Regions from separate parts of the Homo sapiens genome. Here region 2 is linked to region 1. The links are contacts of gene promoters, found by promoter capture Hi-C in human tissues and cell types (Jung and others, 2019). All regions are on one chromosome and are shown on one strand. Each heading gives the region's core, a stretch centred on a gene start or on the middle of the fragment in contact. The rest is flanking DNA. Distances are from core to core; before and after follow the strand shown. Region 1 holds the start of KCNG3 (potassium voltage-gated channel modifier subfamily G member 3). Region 2 overlaps MTA3 (metastasis associated 1 family member 3).

Region 1 (5,546 bases), core at 1,557-4,056:
CTCTGTCTTCCCTTTTTTGTTTCTTGTGTTTCTCTCCCTAAAATTACTATGCATTTCTCTCATTTCTTTACAAATGCTTTACATTAATGATCTCCATATGGCCCTTTCCCTCTCCCAAAACACCCTCCCTCCCCCTAAGATTATATTTGAGGTATTTTACTGGTTTTGCTCATATACTGGTTCAGTCAACTCCCTCATTATCTGCACTAATAATAATTCAATTCTCCTGTTTCCTTTGCTAATGTAGCTCAAACCTTCACTAACCTTAGAATTCTACAGTTACTGGAGAATCAAAATTCCAAGTCCATTTTCCTAAAGCCCTCCTTAAAAAAAAAAGGCATTTATGTATTTAGGTAAATAAATTAATTTCATTGTATTGTTGGAGAACCAAATAAGTAACTCTTATCTGTAAATTCAAAACTGTTAGAACCTAATTCACTAAACAAAATGAGTTTCCTAATGAATTTCCTTTCAAAGCATGTATCTTCGATTTCAAGCCAAGAAGAAATAATAGACTCCGTGGCACTAGACAATTTTATTTACTTCTTAGATTTATATAAAAATCCTTACTCCCTACAGGAAGAATATTATGTAGAAGTAATCCACTGCAATAGCAAGGCCGCCGTTCCGAACATGTACATGCCTATCAGTAAAACATGACAGGGCACAACCTTAAATTTAAAAAATGAATGGAAGGAGGATCTTAAGACAGTGTCAAACAGATAAACTATAATATGCAGTTTGGGTTTTGTGCCCCAAAAGGCTGTCTTCTTTGAAAGTCCATCCTTAGTCTGCTTATTCCTCCCACTGAATATGCTCACTTGTACTAAAAACAGGAAAGTGCTATCACCACTTCAAGGTAAGACAGTCTAAGAAAAGACTGCAATATTTTCCCATTCATCCTAGTAAAGTAGAAAAAAAAATTTACCCAAATACTGTTTTCTGGATTTAGGACAGTTTAGATTTTTCTTTGTTCTCAAGGTAATGGTTTTTTCCCTTCCCATATCATAGACCCTCTGAAAGTCGCAGTGTGAATCTTTGCTACCAAACGGTGGACAAGAGGTTTGCTAACTCCATACTTTGTAGGAAAAGGGGGAAGAAAAGGGCACAGACATCCATTATTTAGAGTCTATCGATAAATTAACCTGCTTTATAATATAACGATTCCATTACAGCACATAGTATGCCGGGGGCAGAGTGTATAGAATGTGTGGAGAGTGCACATTTCACCATAACAAGAATCCATCTTTCCAAACACTACCAAAAATTGGCAAATAATTCAAACTGCGCTTAGTTCAAGGCTTAATTGTTGAACCCTAACAATAAAAGTTCAGAAAAATGTAATTAGCAGGTTGCTCTCTGCGCAAAAGTAAACTACAAAGAGGGGACATTTGTCTATCTCTACACGCCCCTCCCCATGCCTGAGGATTTCGCCCTCAAGAGGTGCGTCTAGTGTAAGGGCCAGACCCCGCTGGTGCCCCGGACAACGGGGTAGGAGTGGGGACCGACCGGTCCCGTAGTTGGCCGCGCCTGGGCCTCGCTGGGCGCGCACCCCGCTGGCTCGGTCGCCCGGAGGCGGACAGGACGGAGACGGGACGTATGGACGGGACGGACAGACGCGACAGGACGGACGGGACGGGTAGAGAAGCAGTGCGTCCTACCCGGAGGGCTCCCTCCCAGGGCCGGCGGAGTACCTGCTCCGGTCATCCAGGCTGCGGTTGTCGGCGGCTGCGTTGCGCCAGTCGGGCAACGTGCTGGCGCACAGCACCACCATGGACACGATCACGAACACCACCGACACGCTAGCCAGGATCTGCGCGGCCAGCGACGACGTGGGCTCCTCGAAGGTCCGCCGCATGCGCTCCAGCCAGCGCCTGGAGGGAGCCGCCTCGGCCCCGCCGGGGCGCGCCTCGTCGCGGCCCAGCACGCCCGGCTCGTCGGCCGAGTAGAAGGTGTAGGTGTCGGACATGCGGTCGTCGAGGCGGCGCTGGCAGCAGTACTCGAGGTGCGCGCCCTCCAGGCCCCAGTAGATCATCTCGTTGTAGAAGGAGAGCTCGCACATCCGCGGCGCGAAGCGCAGCTTGCCGTGGCCGCGCACGTAGAGCAGGATGAAGCCGAAGGCCTCCGAGTGCCGGTCGAAGAAGTACTCGTTGCGCTCGCGGTCGTAGTCGTCGCACACCTCGAGCACGTCGCGCTCGGAGCGGCAGCCGTGCAGCCGGCTCACGCGGCGCAGCGGGAAGTCCTTCAGCAGCTCCCGGGACAGCGAATACCGGGCGCCGCCCACGTTCAGCACCACCGAGGCCGCCCCGCTGCGCCCGAAGGTCATGGCTGGCCGCCCGGGGGACTTTCGGCCCGAGGGCCCCGCTGCAGCCCCCCACCCCAAGCCGCCACGCGGGGCCTGCCTGCCCGTGGCTGACGGGGGAGCGCGCCGTCGGGGCCCGCGCTCCCTCGGGGCTCCGCTCCTGCCCTCCGCTGGCCCGGGGGTCCCTGGGCTCGAGTATCTCCGGCGCTGCTAGTAGCGCGCCCTCCGCCCGGCGGTACCTGCGGGTGGCCGGGGAGTCCTCGCCGGCGCCAGCGCTGAGCCCCACCGGCTGGGAACGCGGCTGTGTCCGCGCCGCCGACCCTCGCGCCCGAGGGCTGCGCACACCGAGGCCGCGGTGCCCTCTCCCAAGCCGCGGGGCCGACCCCCTGAGGGCTGCGGGCGCCGAATGGAGCCGCCGGGGCGGAATAGCTCCCCGTCTCCGGCGCTCCCTGCGGCCGCGAATCCGGCGGCCGCCCCGCCGCCGTCCAGAGGCGAGAGGCAAAGTGAGCGGGTTCGGAGGCGGCGAAGAGCCGGCTCGCGGCGGCGGGGGCGGGGCCTCTGTGCAGTCCTCCTCCTCGCCCGCCGGCTCCGCGCGCGCCGCTCACCTCCCTCCGCGCCGCCCTCCGCTTCCCGCCCGCGCCCGCACCTCCCCGGCTTGCTCGGGCTGGGATTCCCGGGCGCCCCGCCCTGGACCTCGGGCTCCCCGCCTCGTGACGCCGTCCTCCCCCTCCGCTCCGGCCCGTAGTGGCGGGGAGGGGTCCGCAGGGCGGGGGAGCGGGGAGCCCAGCGCCGGGATGCCTGCTCCCGCGTCCTGCCCTGGGCCATCGGGATGAATTGGGCAGTCCCCAGGGCCCCTTTTAACAGCCCTGGTTCAAAGCCCAGTGTGGACTCGGGTGCGGGGACAGACGGCGTTTGGAGAGCTTTTTCCAGAAACTGTCCGGAGCCCAGCTCGGGTTCTGACATCGCCCCTAAGGATTTCTCAGGGAAGGCATCCCAGCCACGGCTTTTCCTGCCGACTTTGCTCTTCCTACCGCCGCGCGGGGCGACCCACGTACCGCGTGCTCAGAGGGCGGCTACACGCCCCATCCCCCAGCCTCGGTGCCGCCTGCCAGCCCGCGGAGGGAAGCGGTCCCCGACCCGGCCCCGGCCCCCACGTTCTGGGGCGCGAGTCCTGAGAAGGCGCCTAACGTGTAGCGCGCCTGGACCCTCTCGAGATGCTGCCCTTAGAGTGGGATGAAAGTCTGGGGAGGAACGCCTTGTCACCGGCAAAAACAGCCTTTCTCTTGGTCTTCGTCTGCATCCTCCTTTTCAAAATATCTTGATTTCCCCCGCGCACCCCTGACCCGGCTGCAGCACCGGCCCTCCGAGCGGGAAGAGCCCCGTGAAGGCTCCGCAGAGCGATCTACCCCGCGCTCTTGTCCGTGCCCAGAAAGCGGGTTCCACTTGGCAGGGATTATTTTAAACTGCTACCAGCAATTCATTCACCTGACACCCGACACCGGCAGCCCAGCCCGCCGGAGGCGAGACAGGTGAGTTGTAAGGCGAACCGTGTTAGATGCAAAACAAATACTAGAAGAAAAAAATAAGGGTGGGGTAGGGTGAGATGCGGTCATCTGACCACAGGGTAACCTGGCTGGTTAAAGGGAAGAGTTTTTCATTGCCCTCTACTTTTCGTAATTTTGTAGGATTGTCCGGTGCCCGCTAGAGGTCGCCAAACGGAGTCCTTTTGCGCTGGTTCTTAAGTGGATTCCTAGTGAAAAGGCAGACAACTGAAAATGTGAGTGCTGTCTTTTAAGTAAAATCACTCTCGGTGGCTTCTTAAAGAATGAAAATCTCTGTGAGTTGTTTATCCCCAGACTTGGATAATTTATCTTAAGAGCACTAAATGTGATTAAAAGCTCAAAAACAGGAGTTATTTGCTACTTTAGTATCTACTAAATAGTTTGCTATTCAGTATCTATTTTGCTATTTAGTGTCTACTGGGTAGATACTGCTACTTTGCTGTTTAGTATCTACTAAGTAGATATTAAACAAGAAAAATATCTGTAAGAAAGTGAGTTTCAAGACAGAATTGGAGGTGCTGATGGCCATGAGTTGGCACAGAGAAAGGGCAAAACATTCCTAGTAGCAAAATCTCGAATGTGGAGGTTTAAAGTCTGTGAAGAAGTATAATGCACTTGCCCACTGAAACAATGGGGATCTCAACTGCAGCATTTAAATTGGATCCCATAAGCAATGGAATCCCTGGAGGTTTCCATAGCAGAAATGGCTTGATGAAAGCTTTATTTCAGGAAGATGCCTTTGCACTTTGGGTCATTCTAAGGAGAAGGTCATTTCGCAACCCAGGAATGGGATCCCCAACCCCGTGTCTGTGAAGATGAAGAAGGGTCTGTTCTGAGAAACGCTGAGACCAAGAACTTTGCAGGTCTTGAAGATGGATTTGTTGTAGGACGTGAGGATGGGGAAAAGTTTGCAGATGTGAGCCAGAGATGAGCCTGGCTTGATACCAAGAGCCAATTCATCAGGAAGCCGTTAAAAAATACTTTCTAGAAGCATCACAAGCAATAGAAGACAGAACTATAGTGCCGATTGTTTGCTCTAACATTATTGTAGGGTTTATTTCCTGTGTTCTCTCCGTAGAATCCTTCTACTGTCTGTTGATTGAACCAGTTGAAGAAATATCTCATTTTAAATTACATTTGAGCTTAGAAAACAAATTAATTTGATGACAATACAATGTGTGCCTCCTAGGTATATTTTCATGCGATTTCTTAGAGAGATAGGCTTAAATCATTTCATTTGTTTCAAGAGTAATATTTTTATTTGATTTTAATATCATCAACCACTGCTGCAGCAGCAATACCCAAATCGTTTTCTTAAACAAAGAAAACAGTGATGCAGAAATGATAGGCTTGTCTCAATATAATCTGGTTTAGAGAGCATTCTTAAAGCCAATTCTATTCTTTGTACTTTGAGAAGATAATGTTGAGAAGTATTACATCCAGATTCTCTCCTAGACTCGGGATGGTATTTAGGGTCTTCATATCTAAATCTTTAGAATGCATTACAATTTAAAGGTAGAATTTTAGAGTTTGAAAGAACCTAGAGGTTTTCTAGTTTCAGAACCTAGGAAAAAAAAAAAAAAAAAAAAGCAAATTACTCCCATTTTTTCCTCCCCTCCGAAGTTACAAAGCTTCAGAGATGTGGCTGTAACTAGCCCGAGCATTCCCAGCAGCAGCATCCT
Region 2 (5,385 bases), core at 1,850-4,349, 240 kb after region 1:
GATGTGTTCATTGCTGAAAGTGAGGTGTTGAAGTCTCTAGCTATTATTGTTTTGTGGTCTCTCTCTCTCTCTGTAGTGCAAATAATATTTGCTTTATGTATCTGGGTGCTCCAGTGCTTGGTGCATATATATTTGTAATTGTTACTGCCTCTTACTGAATTGACCCCTTTATCATTATAAAAATGACCTTCTTTGTCTCTTTTTATAGTTTTTGTCTTTAAATCTTTTTTGTCTGATATAAGTATAGCTACTCCTGCTCTTTTTTGGTTTCCATTTGCATGGAATTTTTTTTTTTTTCCATCCCTTTACTTTGTTTCTCTGTGTGTCTTTATAGGTAAAGCGTGTTTCTTGTAGGCAACAGATCACGGGGCCTTTTTTTTTTTTTTTTTTTTTTAATCCATTCAACCACTTTATGTCTTTTGGTTGGAGAGTTTGGTCCATTTACATTCAGTGTTATTGTTGATAAGTAATGACTTAATCCTGCCATTTTTAAAATTTGTTTTCTCGTTATTTTGTGGTCTTCTCTTCCTTCTTCCTTCCTGTCTTCCTTTTAGTGAAATTGATTTTCTCTGGTGTTATGTTTTAATTTCCTGCCTTTTATTTTTTGTGTATCTGTTGTATGTTTTTTGATTTCTGGTTACCATAAGGCTTGCAAAAAATATCTTATAACCTGTTATTTTAAACTGATGCCAAGTTGACACTGATTGCATAAACAGACAAACAAATAGGCAAAGAGAAAACTAGTGGAAACTCTCTACACTTTAACTTCATCCCCCGCTTTTTAACTTTTTGTTGTTTATATTTATATCTTATACTGCTTATCTCTTGCAAAGTTGTTGTAGTTATTATTTTTGATAGCTTCATATTTTAGTCTTTCTAGTCAAGATATGAGTAGTTTACAGACAATTACACTGTTATAATATTCTGTGTTTTTCTGTGTGCTTACTATTACCAGTAAGTTTTGTACCTTCAGATCATTTCTTATTGCTCATTAATGTCTTTTTCTTTCAGATTGAAGAACTCCCTTTAGCATTTCTTGTAGGACAGGTATAGTGTTGATGACATTTTTTAGCTTTTGTTTGTCTGGGAAAATCTTTATTACTCCTTCATGCTTGAAGGATATTTTTGCTGGATATACTATTCTAAGATAAAAGTTTTTTTCCTTTAGCACTTTAAATATATCGTGACACTCTATTCTGGCCTGTAAGGTTTCCACTAAGAAGTCTGCTGCCAGACATATTGGATCTCCTTTGTATGATATTTGTTCCTTTTCTCTTGCTACTTTTAGGATCTTTTTAAAATCCTTGACTTTTGGGAGTTTGATTATTAAATGTCTTGAGGTAATCTTCTTTGGGTTAAATGTGCTTGATATCCTATAACCTTCTTGTACTTAAATATTGATATCTTTCTCTAGGTTTGAGAAGTTTTCTGTTATCCCTTTGAATAATCTTTCTACAATCTGTCCCTCTACTTCCTCTTTAAGAACAATAACTTTTAGATTTGCCCCTTTGAAGCTATTTTCTAGATCTTTTAAGTGTGCTTCATTGCTTTTTATTCTTTATTCTCTTGTCTCCTCTGACTGTGTATTTCAAATAGCCTGTCTTCAAGCTGACTAATTCTTTCTTGTGCTTGATCAATTCATTAAGAGACTCTGATGTATTTTTCAGTATGTCAATTGCATTTTTCGCTCCAGAATTTCTGCTTGGGTCTTTTAAATTATTTCAGCATCTTTCTTAATTTTATTCTATTATTGAATTCTGTTGTGCTTCCTCAAAACACTTATTTTGAATTCTCTGTCTGAAAGGACACATATCTCCATCTCTCTGGGATTGGTCACTGGTGTCTTATTTAGCTTGTTTGGTGAGGTCATGTTTTCATGGATGGTCTTGAAGTTTGTGGATATTCTTCAGTGTCTGGGCATTGAAGAGTTAGGTATTTGTTGTAGTCTTCACAGTTTGGGCTTGTTTGTCCGCATCCTTCTTGGGAAGGCTTTCCAACTATTAGAAGGGATTTGGGTGTTGTGATCTAAGTCTTTGTTCACTGCAGCCATACCTGCATTAGGGGGCACCTCCAGCCCAGTAATGCTGTGTCTCTTGCCTTGGTTGTCTTGGGTAAGATCTGGGAGAATTCCCTGGATTACTAGGTGGAGACTCTTGTTCTCTTCTTTTACTTTCACTCAAACAAATGGACACTATGTCTCTGTGCTGAGCTGCCTGGAGCTGGAGAAGGGATGATGACACAAGCACCCCTGTGGCGACTACCACTGGGACAGCTCTGTGTCAGACCTGAAGCCAACACAGCACTGGGGCTCACCCAAGGCCTATGATGATCACTGCCTGGCTACCACCTGTGTTCACTCAAGGTCCAAGGACTCTCCAATCAGCAGGTGGCATATCCAGCCAGGCATCTTCCCTTCAGGGCAGTGAGTTCACTGTGACCCCAAGTAGGTCCAGAGATGCCAACTGGGAGCCAGGGCCTGGAGTCAGGAACCTTAGGAATCTACCTGGTGTTCTACCCTAGAGTGGCCAATCTGGTACCCAAGTTGTAAGACAAAGTCTTCTTACTCTTCTCTCTCCTTTCCTCAAGCAGAAAGAGTCTCTCCTCATAGCCACCCACCTGGGAATGTGCTGGGTCACATCTGAAGCCAGCATGTCTCTGAGTCTCATCCAAGGCACACAACAAGTACTGCCTGGATACCACTGCTGATTATTCAGGGCCCAAGGGCTTTTTAGTCAGCAGCTGGTGAATCCTGCCAGGACTGGATCCTTCCCTTCAAGGCAGTGGGCTTTCTTCCTGCTTGAAGTGTGTTTTCAAATGTCATCTGGGAGTTAGGGCCTGGAATGGGGGCCTCACAGCTGTGTCTGGTGCCCCATCCTACTGTGGCTGAGCCAGTATCAAAGTTGCAAGAGAAAGTCCTCTTTACTCTATCCTTTTCTCTCCTAAGCAGGAGGAAGGAGTCTCTGCAAGGGCTGTGAGCTGTGCTGCCTGAGACTGGGGGAAGTGTGGTGTAAGCATTCCCTTAGCAGCCCTGGCTGGTATCTCACTAGGTGATATGCTCCCCAAGTCCATTGGCTCCAAGACCAGCACAGCACCAGGATTTGCCTAGGAATTGCAGTCCTTGTGGCCTAGACTGCCTTTCAAGTTTATTTAGGAACCCAGAGCACTTTAACCCACAGTGGAAGGGCTTGCCAGAACTCAGGTTCCAACTGCTGGGATGAGCTATTCCCCTCTGGCTAAGGCTGGCCTAAATGCTCCTTCTGTGGGCACCGGCTGAGTTCTGCCTCGTATTGCTTTCCACTGTGTCAGGGCAGCACTGGGTTCCAATGCAAAGTTTCACAATCACTGTGTTCTCCCTCCCTCTTCCCTTCCCTCTTCAGTGCCTGTTTTCTTAATATGATGTTAAAATCAGGTACTGTGATCGCTTACCTGATTTTTGGTTCTTATGAAGGTGCTTTTTTGTGTAGCTAGTTCTTCAATTTGGTGTTCCTTCAGCAGGGACAATTGCTGAAGGCTTCTATTTGATCATCTTGCTCTGCCTCCCTCTTTTCATGTACTTTATATCACTTGGTTTTCCAAATACTTTATGAGGTAAATGTTATAACCTACATTTTAGGAATGGAAAAAATAGAAGCTCAAGAAGGTTGAAGAATTTGCCCAAAGTCGCATTGCTAGAAAGTAGCAGAGATGGGATCTAAACTCCAAATCTAGTGTTTTTTCCACCGAATGAATACAGGCCCAGATTTGTATATTGAATACAGCATTTACAGGCATACCTCAGAGATACTATTGAGTTCAGTTCAACACCACTGCAATAAAGCTAATATCACAATAAAGCAAGTCACATGAGTTTTCTGGTTTCCCAGTGCATATAAAGTTATGTTGGCTGGGAGTGATGGCACATATCTGTAATCCCAACACTTTGGGAGGCCAAGGCAGGCAGATTGCTTGAGCCTAGGAGTTTGAGATCAGCATTGGCAACATGCTGAAACCTTGTCCCTACAAAAAATACAAAAATTAGCTGATCATGGTGGCATGTGCCTGTAGTCCCAGCTACTCGGGAGGCTGAGGTGGGAGGGTGGATTGAGACTGGGAGGTCGGAGCTGCAGTGAGCCAAGATTGCACCACTGGACAAGGCTGGGCAACAGAGTGTGTTGCAGGAAGTCAGGGACCCCAAACAGAGAGACCGGCTGAAACCATGGCAGAAGAACGTGGATTGTGAAGATTTTATGGGCATTTATTAGTTCCCCAAATGAATACTTTTGTAATTTCTTATGCCTGTCTTTACTGCAGTCTCTAAACATAAATTGTAAAGATTTCATGGACACTTACCACTTCCCCAGTCAATACCCTTGTGATTTCCTATGCCCGTCTTTACTTCAATCTCTTAATCCTGTCAGCCGAGGAGGATGTATGTTGCCTCAGGACTATGTGATAATTGCATTAACTGCACAAATTGTACAGCATGTGTGTTTGTGCAATATGAAATCTGAGCACCTTGAAAAACAGGATAACAGCAATTGTTCAGGGAGTAAGAGAGATAACCTTAAACTCTGACTGCTGGTGAGCCAGGCAGAACAGAGCCATATTTCTCTTGTTTCAAAAGCAAATGGGAGAAATATTGCTGAATTCTTTTTCTCAGCATGGAACGTCCCTGAGAAAGAGAATGCGCACGTAGGGGTAGCTCTCTGAACTGGCCCCCCAGGGCGTACCTGTTTCTTATGGTTGAGACTGCAGGGGTGAAATAAACTCCAGTCTCCCATAGCGCTCCAAGGCTTATTAGGAAGAGGAAATTCCTGCTTAATAAATTTTGGTCAGACCGGTTGATCTCAAAACCCTGTCTCCTGATAAGATGTTATCAATGACAATGGTGCCCGAAACTTCATTAGCAATTTTAATTTCGCCTGGGTCCTGTGGTCCTGTGATCTCGCCCTGCCTCCACTTGCCTTGTGATATTCTATTACCCTGTTAAGTACTTGATGTCTGTCACCCACACCTATTTGCACACTCCCTCCCCTTTTGAAAATCCCTAATAAAAACTTGCTGGTTTTTGTGGCTTGTGGGGCATCACAGATCCTACCAACGTGTGATGTCTCCCCCAGATGCCCAGCTTTAAAATTTCTCTCTTTTGTACACTGTCCCTTTATTTCTCAAGCCAGCCGACACTTAGGAAAATAGAAAAGAACCTACGTGATTATCGGGGCAGGTCCCCCAGTAAGAGTGAGACCTTGTCTCAAAAACAAACAGACAATAATTATGTTTACACTATACTGTAGTCTATTAAGTGTGCAATAGCATTATGTATAAAATAACAATGTATATACCTTAATTTTAAAAATACTTTATTGCTAAAAAAAAAAAAAAAGCTAATGATCATCTGAGCCTTCT

Evidence for each region. Contacts are between HindIII fragments. The study calls those that stand out against the background at their distance.
Region 2: a contact is called between a fragment that was not itself captured here and the fragment with the promoter of KCNG3 in region 1, in 1 of the 25 tissues and cell types used here (H1 embryonic stem cells).

The regions. Positions count from the first base shown.
Region 1 is chr2:42,491,176-42,496,721 of GRCh38, forward strand. It overlaps KCNG3 (potassium voltage-gated channel modifier subfamily G member 3), which reads right to left and starts at 2,807. Exons shown (of 2, transcript NM_133329.6): 1 at 1,662-2,807. The coding sequence starts at 2,326. It also overlaps a transcript of MTA3 not described here. RefSeq lists enhancers at 994-1,751, 1,752-2,509, 3,834-4,128 and silencers at 2,590-2,679, 2,860-2,909, 3,000-3,079. The HindIII fragment of the contact is 23,685 bases long and covers 1-5,038 here.
Region 2 is chr2:42,734,099-42,739,483 of GRCh38, forward strand. All of the region lies in intron 16 of MTA3 (metastasis associated 1 family member 3), which reads left to right. Among named protein-coding and RNA genes, the nearest start is that of OXER1, 27 kb to the right of the region's middle. The HindIII fragment of the contact is 5,886 bases long and covers 157-5,385 here.